Regions from separate parts of the Homo sapiens genome. Here region 1 is linked to region 2. Evidence: promoter capture Hi-C in 16 types of primary human blood cells and fetal thymus (Javierre and others, 2016). All regions are on one chromosome and are shown on one strand. Each heading gives the region's core, a stretch centred on a gene start or on the middle of the fragment in contact. The rest is flanking DNA. Distances are from core to core; before and after follow the strand shown.

Evidence for each region. The method cuts DNA at HindIII sites, captures the fragments that hold promoters and counts their contacts. A CHiCAGO score of 5 or more calls a contact.
Region 1: a contact is called between a fragment that was not itself captured here and the fragment with the promoter of PXDNL in region 2, in 1 of 17 cell types (fetal thymus). The highest score is 5.5, in fetal thymus.

The regions. Positions count from the first base shown.
Region 1 is chr8:52,399,691-52,405,549 of GRCh38, forward strand. All of the region lies in intron 2 of ST18 (ST18 C2H2C-type zinc finger transcription factor), which reads right to left. Among named protein-coding and RNA genes, the nearest start is that of ST18, 7.1 kb to the right of the region's middle. The HindIII fragment of the contact is 2,820 bases long and covers 1,649-4,468 here.
Region 2 is chr8:51,804,617-51,810,727 of GRCh38, forward strand. It overlaps PXDNL (peroxidasin like), which reads right to left and starts at 4,829. Exons shown (of 23, transcript NM_144651.5): 1 at 4,565-4,829. The coding sequence starts at 4,728. RefSeq lists enhancers at 4,202-4,724, 4,725-5,246. The HindIII fragment of the contact is 1,936 bases long and covers 3,039-4,974 here.

The sequences.
Region 1 (5,859 bases), core at 1,809-4,308, 590 kb after region 2:
TTTGTTGCTCAGGAACATGTTTAATCTCCACATATTTGCGAATTTTTCAAGATTCCTCCTGTTGTCGACTTCTAGTTTCATACTGTTGTGGTTGGAAAAAAATGGTACATATAATTTCAATCTTCTATGGGACTGACATAGGGGCTTTCCTGAAGAATGTTCTATGTGCACTAGAAAAGAATGTTTATTCTGCTGCTATTAGATTGAAAGTTCCATATATGTCTGTTAGGTCCATTTGGCCTAAAGTGAAGCTCAAATCCAGTGTTTCCTTATTAATTTTATGTCTGATTGATCTATCCATTGATGAAAGGGGGGTGTTGAAGTCCCCAGCTATTATTGTATTGCTATCTAGTTCTTCATTCATGTCCATCAATATTTGCTTTATATACTTAGGTATTCCAATGCTGGGTGCATATATATTTCCAATTGTTTTGTCTTCTTAATAGGTTAGCCCTTTTACCATTACATAATGACCTTCTTTGCTCTTACAACAGTTTTTAACTTGAAGTCTATTTATCTGCTATAAACAGCCATCTCTGCTCTTTCAGTTACTATTTGCATGGAATATCTTTTTTCACTCCCTTCACTTTCAGCCTGTGTATGTCCCTAAAGCTACAATGGGTCTCTTGTAGGCAGCATAAAGTTGGATGTTGGGTTTTTATTCATTTAGACACCCTCTGCCTTTTGATTGGAAAGTTTAATCCATTTACATTCAGTTATTATTGATAATAGTTACTATTGATAGGTATTGACTTAACTCTTGCCATTTTGTTAATTGTTTTCGGTTGTTTTGTAGATTCTTTTTCCTTTCTTCCTCTTTTGTTGTCTGCCTTTGTGATTTGTTGATTTTCTGTAGTGCTAAGCTTTGATTCCCTTTTCTTCCTTATTTGTGTATTTGTTATAGTTTTTTGCTTTGTGTACCATGGGGCTTACATAAAACATCTTATAGTTATAATTGATTATTATAAGATGATAACTACTTAACTTTGATCACATAAAAATACTCTAGACTTTTAACCTCTCCCCTGTCATCCACAATTTATGTTTTTGTTGTCACAATTTACATATTTTTATATCGCATATTTCTTAGCAACTTAATGTAGCCACAGTTATTTTTGACCATTTTGATGTTTAACCTTCATACTAGAGAGTTGAAAGATTTACACGCCACCACTACAGTAATTACATATTCTGAATTTGACAATAAATGTACCTCTACTGGCGAGTTTTATATTGTCATATGTTTTCATGATAGTAATCATCATCCTTTTGTTTCTGGTTAAACAATTCCCCTAAATATTTCTTATAAGGCAGGTCTAGTAGTGATAAATTTTCTTAGCTTTTGCTTCTCTGGCAAAGACTTTATTTCTCCTTTATTTTTGAAAGTCAGCACTACTAAGTGTAATATTCTTGGCTGACAGGTTTTTTTTCTTTCAGCACTTTTAAGTATATTTCTCCCTTCTCTTCTGGCTTGCAAGGTTTCTGCTGATAAATCTGCTGACAGTCTAATGGAGATTTCCTGATATGTCATTTGACATTTTTCTCTTGCTGCTTTTTAAATTCTCTCTGTGTCTTTGATTTCTGACATTTTTATTGTAATATGACTTGGTGGGGCCCTCTTTGGGTTGAACCTGTTTGGAGATCATTAAGCTTCATAAATCTGCATGTCCATTTTCTCCCAAGACTTGAGAATTTTTCAGCAACTCATTTGTTAAATAAGTTTTCCATGCCTTTCCCCTTCTTCTCCCTCTAACAACCCCATATTTAAATATTTTGTCACTTAATGAGTGTCTTATAAATCCCATAGGCTTTCCTCACTCTTTTTTCCTCCTGACTAGGTTATTTCAAAAGACTTCTTTTCAAGTTCAGAGATTCTTTCTTCTGCTTGATCTAGTCTGCTGTTGAAGCTGTCAATTTTAAAATTTTATTCATGGAGTTATTCAGCTATAAGATTTCTGTTTGGTTAGTTTTTATGATAGCTATCTCTTTGTGGACTTTCTCATTCAGATCATGAATTGTTTTCCTAATTTTGTTGCATTGTCTATCTGTATTCTCTTGTTTCCTTAAAATTATTAGGTTTAATTCCTTTTTAAGCAATTTCAATTTCTTTGTGGCCAGTTACTAGGGAATTATGGTCTTCCTTTTGTGGTGTCATGTTTCCTTGCTTTTTCATATTTCTTATGTCCCTATGTTGATGCCTGTGCATCCAGTGGAACAGTTGCCTCTTCTAATTTTATAGAGGGCTTTCATAGGGAAAGACTTTCGCCTGTAGATGAGTCCTAGAGTGTCAGGTCAGCAGAGTACTTGGCTCTGCTTCTGAGTGGGTGCAGTAATGTAGTCTCTGTGCAGCTTCTTCAGCTGTGATTAATATCAGCAATGACTGCAAGTACCTCAGTGTCTTCGGCTGTAGGAGTTTGTGGCAGTGGTGGTGGCATGGTAGTTTGTTAGGGTTCTTGGCAGCAAGGGCATTAGGGGTTCTCCTGTTGTCATTTTCCCCACAGTGGGCACACTTAGCTGAGGGGATCCCTGTTATTATCAGGTGTGACATGGGCCACAGGCAGCCATAGCATCACTGTGTTCAAGGGCACATGTGATTGGAATGGCTGTAGAACTGGGGTCCTGGGCTCAGTGTCTTGTTGAACTACTGTGGCACCTGTGATGTGGGCACAGGTCCATTCTCTGAGGCACAGGTGGATGCAGGTCTCCCACCAAGCCAAGGACTGTGACTCTAAGGCATTTCCCAGTAGCTTGGGCCCAGGGTTCAAGGATGTAGCTGTGACTCTAATCCTGGAGATCAGGGCACAGCATTGACATGGCTCCAGGGAAGAAGGGGTGTTCTAGACGCTCAGTCCCCAGAGAGCAGGCGACAGCTGCAATTCAGGTCTTAGAACCAATAGGGCACAGTGGCAACTCAGGCATCAGAAGTGGGGGTACTGCATAGTGATGACTATGGTCCCAGAGCAGTGGGATACAGCAGTAGGTCAGTCTCTGTGACGCCAGGTGCAGTGGCAGCAAGGACCCAAGAACAGTGGAGCACAGTTACTGCTTGGGCTCTGGGAAGCAGGTGCCACTTCTGGAGTCAATTCAGACTCCAGAGGGCTGGCCCAGACCCAGGAAGGTGGGGCACGGCAGCTGTTCAGCCCAGGGGTGGGGCAGCACAGCTCAGCCAAGGCTGTTTCTCTGGGGGCCAGTATACCACATCAGCTCAGCACTATGGGGTGTGGCTGCTCTGCTGGGCTGGGATCCAGGAACCTGAAGAGCACACTGCCATAAGGGCTTGGATACCAGGGATGTAACTGCTCCCCTAGACCAAAGTTCCAACTTCCTGGGGGTGGGACATTGGGCTGGTTCAGGCACTGAAGTGCATGCCTGCTCCACTGGGCCTTGGGTCCAAGTAGCTGGGGCTGGGGCACAGTAGCAACTTGGATGGGGGAAATGGGGTGGCTTCTAGGTAGCTTGTTCCCAGGGGGTATGGAGTTGCTGCAGCTCAGTTGGGGAATGTTGCACTACCATGTTTGAAAGCATGGTGCAATGGTGGCCAGGCCTCAGGGATAAACAGATACAGTGGCTACTGGACCCCCAAGCAGGACACACTCTAGCAGTGGCTCTGGTTTCCAGATGGCACAGTGCAGTAGCAGCTTGGCCTACAAGAGTTGAGGCACAATGTGGGCTCCTTCTTTGGAGCAGTGCAGCTATGTGAACTCCAGGCAGCTCCCCAAGCTGAGCTCAGGGACCTTGAGGACTGTAGAATTCTCCAGTGGTGAAGACTGCTGGTGTCCACAATGGTAATAGGGGCTGCTGGGTACCTCCTGCTTACCTTTTCCCCCCAGGAAGGAGTCCTTCCTGGTTCTGAGCTGAATAAGAGAATGGGGTGGCACAGGTGGGGTGGCAAGGGTGTGGCATGATTCCTCCTCTTCTGTATGAGCCCATACTTAGTGTTTGTGCTCCACTGGATTTCTGCCACTCCTGCTGTACTCCCGCACTCTTCTTCAGCCACTGTGGTCAAAATGTAGTTGTTTATTCATTGTTTATTCATTTTTTGTGGGGGTAGTCCAGGAAATGGGTGTTGGGCACTTTTAGTCAGCCATCTTGCTGATATCACTCCTCTCTAACTCTTAATATGATTGTAAGTAACTTAAACATCAGCAAAATTAATCATGCCTTGGTAAATTACAAACTATAAAGTAAAAAGAACAGAAACACTGGTGATCAGTTACCAGGCTTTTCCCTCCTAGCAGATACCAAACCTGGTCACTGATGGAAAGGGCTTCTGGTCTAACATTTGATGTAAATCTTCTAGTGGCTACCATTATATCTAAACAGCATAATAGTTTGATTTTTGGTTTGGCTACCAGATAAATCACACTGATTATCAATTCTGAATAAGATCTATTGCCGCCTTGCCATGAACAATGAAAAATAGTAAACATTTATGACAATCTCATAAAGGATAGTAATGCTGAAAGAAAGCTTTCTAAGCCACCATTAATTAAAAATAAATAAATTTGATTAACCACATTAGAAAAAGATTGGATTAGCTTTCCATTCTTTCTGTATAAAATATTATAAGAGCATTGTCAATAAAGGGCTTTTGAGAGAATTAAACGAGACAGCACATTCAAAGCACTGAGACCCATCCTGCACAGAGAAGGGCTCAGGTATTTGTTGGGAGAATTAATGACAAGCACTGCTGAGACAGAAGGAGTCGGGGCAGAGGGGCATTTCCAGGCCCAGGAGCACATGTTCACATCACTCCTTCCCCAGTCTCACAACAGACCTAAGATTTAAGAGATAGAGGGCAGGCCATGTGACGGATAAAGAAGGAAGGAGGAAAAGAAGGCTGAACCAGATGTAACCCAAACACCCAGCACTGTTTTCGGGAACTAACTTCAGCAAAAGGTGCAAAGCGGAGGTGTGGGGACATGGCCAGCAAGTCCCTCTTTCCCTCACTGCCCCCTGAGCATTCTGAGAAATTTAAAACTAACTCATGATTTGATATTTCTACCACTTCCCCATCTTTTCTCTCAAGCTGTAAGTATCAACTTATCTGAATTTTAACCAACGCTTTAGAAAAAGAAAACCTCCAAAATTCTAGTGGGGGTTTAATGCTCATACTGTTTTTCTATAAGATAAACAGTAAAAATATCTTTTTAAAAAAATTATTTTTTCCAGATGCTTCCAAGTACTCAAAACAACGTGCAGCCCATAACTTTAAGTTACCTTGTCCAGACCCACTTACTATTTAACCAGTCGATATGTTATCGCCTCAGAACTGTAATTATGTTTATGCCTTTTGAACAAGCTGATGAAAAGAAACATTTGCTTAAGGTTCCCATCAATGAATGCAGAGCTTAGATTAGTCTTTAGCTTATACAAACGTTATGCTTATTAATTCAGAATATTCATTCAGTTATTGAAACATGATGACAAAACTGTACAGTGAAAGACTGATTCTCTATTATACATATTAGCATTGCACAGAAATCCTTTGGCTCAGGAATAACTGTCCGAGACTCAGGATTCATATATCTCTTTGAATTTTTAAAACGGTGATTTAGGTATCAAAACTATAACATCAATGCTCTGAATACACAGATTATAAATTATCAAAATAAGTCCATTCTGATTAAGAACTCTCCAGCTGGATTTCAGCTTAAGAAATTCTAAAACTGCCTATGCGCAGTCCAGTCCACGCCAACAACCACAGCATCCTTTTTAATTAAAAGCCAGTGAGATGACTCATGCCACCTGTTTCATTGATCCTGCTATATTCCTATTTTGGTCAGAGTTCTCTTTTGAGGATTAAAACTTTTATGAAAACAAATAGCAAATATTTATTCAAATTGATTACTATTGTTT
Region 2 (6,111 bases), core at 3,579-6,078:
CCACAGCTTTGCTGCCTCAGGTTGCGGCTACTCCCCACAAAGCTACTATTCCATAACACATCCCTTCACTTCATTTATAGAATCTACAGTAGGGTTGAAAGGCAGCACTTAGTGTAGGGAACACTGTTCTAATACTTTAATCAGCATATACCATCTAAGTACAGGCTGTTGTAGGATATCCTGGCTCCACTGACCTTCTAAAACAATTTGTCTGTCCATTTGTTTCTTGAAGGATGACTCCCAAGTCTCCAGGGTACATTATACCCCAGCCAGTGGTGCTGGCCTTTACTCCTCTACCTCCTCAAGCTGTCACCTCCACATTGTCCCTATGTCCATTCTCCTGCTTGGGCTCCATCCACACTCACCTGCCCTTCCTTCCAGAACAGCCTCTTCCAGCCCCTCTCCACAGAACCACACTGGCCTGAGTCAGGAGGTCAGTGACAGCCCACTTTCAGTTTCATTTCTCTCCCCAACAAGTCAACCACTGGGGGAAGTTTGAATGTTGACACACTTCATCTGGGTCCCACTGTGCTTCCCCTCAACAATGCCAGGTGGGGGAAGGTCCAAAAAGTTCAGGCCTGTTCATTACTGCCAAGTGGTCATTCAAAGCCAGTAAGTTATGTCGGTTACAAACAAGCTACAAAAAATTTTGTAACAAAGGTAAAAGTAAGCCCTATTAAGTTGTATTTTATATATACATATATATATTTTAAATTATACAATTTTATATATAAAACTTTATATATAATTTAAATTATAAAATTATGTTTGCTGCCTCAGATTGCAGCTACTCCCTATTATTCCATAACACATCATTTTATGTATATATACAAAATGATATATATATTATATATATATAAAATGAATGGAAATTGGAAGAGCTGAAGGAATTCTATTTTCTTCTTGAACAAGGTGAAATTTTTTATCAGCTGGACACACTTTTTCATGACTGAGCATAAGACATTTTCCATTTCCCCACCCCCATCTTGTTCCTCAAGTTTTCTATTATTTGGACAGCAAAGAAAGCTTTCCACATAAAGAAAATGTCTTTAAATTAAATGTTTAGAATTTCACATTGTAAATACTTTTGTATTTATGACTTTTAGGAAAATCCTCGATCATTAAAACAGCCCTAAGCTTAAAACTTTTTCTAATCAAGGTGGTTTTTAGAGCATGTTCAATTTGCAGTCACTGAGTCCATTTCTTAACCAGTAACTAAGGAAATTAGGAAAGTACAACCTAATGACCCTGGAATAGGATGGAGTCAAATCACACTCACCATACACTGCTTCTGATTACTGAACAGGCTCCCTAAAGATGCTGTGTTCATTACTGGACATTTTTTTGTTTGCAAATTCTAATTCTGAAAGATTTGTTTTACTAAAATCCACGGCACAAAGAGTGAGATTTTCTCAATGGCAGCAGGCTTTTTGGTAAATGATATTAGTTTAGAAACACAATATCTTTATAGTCAGAATGAAATTAAAATTTGGAGGGACAGTTTTGCATTTTTCTAAACTTAAAACCCTGATCAACTGTAACCAATCTTAAAAATAATACAGTTTTCTTATCTATGATTTAGGAAAATATTTTCTGCATTCAGGCTAAAATTTTAAAACATGTAAAAATGGAAAAAATTAAGGAAATTTTAACACTACTACTAATAAGCATTTACTAAGCATGTTGGCCATTTGCAGAGCTAAATATATTATTTACATCATTTCCATGTTATAATGACAATAAACATACATAAGGGCGGTTTAACAAAAACTATTGGTTCTGCTGCTGGGGAGAAATTCATTCAGCTTCCATTTGCCTTAGTTTTCAAAAACTAATTGGCTTTTTCCCATAATTGTTATTGTCATCTTTCATGATATTGCTGACATAAAATGCAATCCTACATCAAGGATTTTTAGCCCCAGAGGAGTAGAGGAGCAATTTTTACAGGCTTTACATATACTTCTCAGCTTTTATACCATTTCTCTACTAGAAGTCACAAACTGAAGGTCCTAGGCAAAAAGCAACCTACAAATATGCATGGTTGGGCTTGTATATTTTTGCCTTTCCATTTCTAAAAATGTAATTAGCTGCTAATATTGAAAAGCTAGGGAATGTCACTTTTGGCTTCCATATTTTCTTGAAACTATGGCCCAAATCCCCAAAGGCCATCAATTAGCTAAGTAACTGGCTGCCCCATTAGCAAGAGCTGCCTCTGCCTTCATTACCATCCCCACACACTCCAAGCTTCAGGCTAGTTGCTATTCATCACACAGTAGTCTGCCTTTCATCTACCCCACTTCCCTCAAATTGTTTACTGGCAGGTTCCCAGAGATATTTAGGTTTGTAATTCCTGTCCTGAATTGCAAACATGATACTAATAGTGAAAACTTCCATAGTGTTTACTAGAGCTAAGCAATTTTCTAGGTACTTAAAATGCATTAATTCATTAAATCTTCAAGATAACCAATAGGGTGAAGAGTGCATCAGTCTGTTTTCACACACTGTGATAAAGAAATACCTGAAACTGGGTAATTTACAAAGAAAAGAGGTTTAATTGGTTCATGGTTCTGCAGGCTGTACAAGAAGTACAGCAACTTTTGCTTGGCTTCTGGGGAGGCCTCAGGAAACTTACAATCATCGCAGAAGGCAAAGGGGGAGTGAGAACTTCACATGGCCAGAGCAAGAGGAAGAGAGACGCAAGAAGAGCTATATACTTTTAAACAACCTGATCTTGTGATACCTCACTCTCGCCATGACAACACCAAGGGAGGTGGTGTTAAACCATGAGAATCCGCCCCCACTATCCAATCACCTCCCACTGCACCCCACCTCCAACATTGGGAGTTACAATTGAACATGAGATTTGGGTGGGGACACAGATCCAAACCATATCAAACACTGTTAGCATCTCCATTTTTACAGATTAGGAAACTGTGACACCAAGAAGTTAAGAATTTGTCCAAGGCAACACATTTTGTAAGTGGTGGCACCAGACTCCCAGACAGGAATCTAGCCAAGGGCCTGAGAATCCACCATTAAGCTTTATTTTTAAACATAGTGGAAGGCTCTGCATGACAACACTGACAACATCACTTCAGTTCTGCTCATTACATTTAGAGGTGTGTGTCTAATGCAAGCTAATCTCTTCTTTGAAACACCTAGGAAACAAAATTTAGGTCGAGTTGTACCTCATGTAGCTCCAAGATACTTCATTAGACAAGCAGCCCCTTCTCCAAGGCTTTGCTGCTATCTACCAAAAAACTGTCATTACAAAAGGACAAATGGCTGGTTCTGAGTCTGAAGGCACTTGCAGAACTGTGCTGTCCACATAGCAATAAGCAGTGCTCCCAAGTTCAAGAATCCTTTCAGTTATTACAGTAAGACGTATTTTGATATCTGCATGCATATAAAATTAATGAAATGCTTTATAGAAATGAAAATCTATGGATAATATGTCATTTTCTATGTAAATACCATCAAATTGGACTTTTTATTACCAAGTCCTCATTTCACGATTATGACTGACAAATGTGTGGCAATGATCCTCTTAAACATTTATATCTCAAAATTCCAGGAATTTTAAGCTATTTCCCTCTGCCCAAGAATGGACTTGAAACACTGCAAGCAGTTTTGTCTTCCATGAACATGACACAACCCACAAAATATTTATTATAGAGCAGGAAACCTCTTTAGTCTGCATCTTTCAGCATTTTTCCTTTTCTTCTTTTATTTTTTCTTAAATTTTTGAATTTGTCGTCTTTTTCTTTCTTTAAAAATAGACCCTAGAAACAGATCCTTTTCTTCTTTTGTGGTGATTTGCCCTTCTAATTATCTAATTATGACTTAATTTAATCTAAATAAATCTAAATGTTTGGGTTTATTATCTGAATATTAAAGATGAGAAGATAGGATTTGAACTCAGACCTGTTTGACTTCCAAATTCTGGTTTGCCCTACTATCCCGTAATGCCTCCTAGATGCCGATTAGTCTAAGCGGCTGCTCCACAAGGCTTTTAAGCATTCAAGAACTCTACTGGACCATTTGAGGGTCTGTTCTGGAGACAGACAGTGCTTCAAGTGCTGAGGGCTCAGGACTTCACCCTCCCAGGAGGTACACACAGTACAAAGCCTAACAATTTGTCAGCACATAATCAATTGAAACCACACTCTAAAGTTAAATTAGTTCCTTCCAAATGGGGCAGACACGTGCTGACCAATTAAGAGGCCCAAAGACTTGGGAGTAGAGGATGAATAGGAATAAATTGAGAAAGTATGCAGGAAAATTATTGAAGGAAGAATGAAGACGAGAATTCTCAATGCTAAGTTCTGGAAGATGCTGGAAGAGAACTGAATCCAAAACAAATATATTTATGTCAACTCATCATTGCTTACATTTTCTAGTCTAACAGAGCAGAACCATGAAATTGTTTGAAAAGTGAAAAGCCTCTTCTAAGTATACAAGCAGGGAGAGCATTAGGAATCGTAAATTAAAAGGACACAGGTCCTAGCAGAGAAGCAATGAAGCATTGGGGAAGAGGGTTTCTGGGGAATTTATGTGAACTTACAGAACTGTGGTCTGCTGTGGTACCTGAGGAATGTGGTCCAGCATCAAGTGCATGCAGCGGACGGTGCTCTTAAAGCAAAGGCACCGGCTGGGGCAGGGCAACCCTGGCAGGCACCACCCGGCCAGGAGAAAGAGAGTGGTCCAGCAGAACAGTCTGGGCTCCATCGCTCCATTCGCTGCTGGCCACGCGAAGAAGCAGCCGGAGGGAGAGCAGCAGCTGCAGCTGCAGCAGCAACCGCAGTGGTGGTGATGGTGGCTGCTGGACTGAGCCAAGTTTGGGAGCCGTGGTGGAAAGCAGCTCCCAGGGAAAGGACACCCCTCTGACCAATCCAGGAGGAGGGATATCACATTACAGGGCTGAGGGCACAAGCAGCTCTAGGAAGCACTAGACTCCCAGAGGCGAGGACGAGAAGCTTTTCAATGCAAAAGCCTCTTTCTAAAACACCGTGTTTTAGGCAGCATAATGCAAACAAACTTTTCCAAAATTACTTCCACTGCGCATTTGATGAAAAACCCGACCTCTTAGCCTCCAGCTGTCCTCTTGAAGCCCAAGTTGATTAAGAATGTATTGAAACAATGCAGAACAGCTTTTCTTCTTTTTTATCTGGTAACATTACCAAACCCTAAAGGGCAGGCAGAGTTCTAATTCGTTCATCTAGGTGCACATATTCTTTCTTTATTCCAAACTATGCTCTTTAATAAAAATTGTTTCATTTCCTTCTATATATTCTGCTGCTGAAACCCAACACATTTCACTCATGTAAGACTCAAACGGGCTACTTCTGATTTCTTCTTTTAACGTTTAAATTTATATGCTTAAAACCATGAACTCACATACCTCCTTCAAGAGGATACAACTGATGGACAAACCTAAGTATGTATATGTAAAGTCAAACAGATGCAAGCTCCCTCAGGACACACTGGCAGCAGTGGTCTTGCTGGTTGCAGACTTTTCATCAGCAGTTTGAACTGGCCATCTTTCCCTGAAGTGAGCAGCACCTCGTTGAGGACGTGTCTGAAAACTTAATAAATATGAAAACATCTACTTTTTGGTCATTCTGTAAGCAGGTATTTTTAAACAGATTTTTGGCTTTATCTTTAAAGACTAACATTTTCAAACAAAAATGTTTTAAATCCATAAAAGTAATAGAAAACAAATTAAAACTTGCATGGTCAATCCCAGATGATCAGACTAGTAGACCAATCTTAAGAGGAAAATAAGTTCATCCTTGTCTCTGCAGAAATGTTTCAGTCCCTTTACATTCTACTGTAGGCGAATACTGCCCTCTTTTGGCAAAATGTTCATATCTAAATATGTGATTTTGGGGAGATTAAAATGTAAAAAGATCTAAAAAACAAAACTAATCTCCATGAACAAGAATGATTTATTTTAAACTTTACATTTGACATTGTTCACATGACTTTTATTGTCCAAGTATACCAATAAAGCCAAAAAACGAAATTTATTCCTTTAAATCCCAACAATCACTATGCTCTTGGCAGTGCCTGTGATTTGGAGGACATAGACAAGACCTGCAGGTTTGTGCC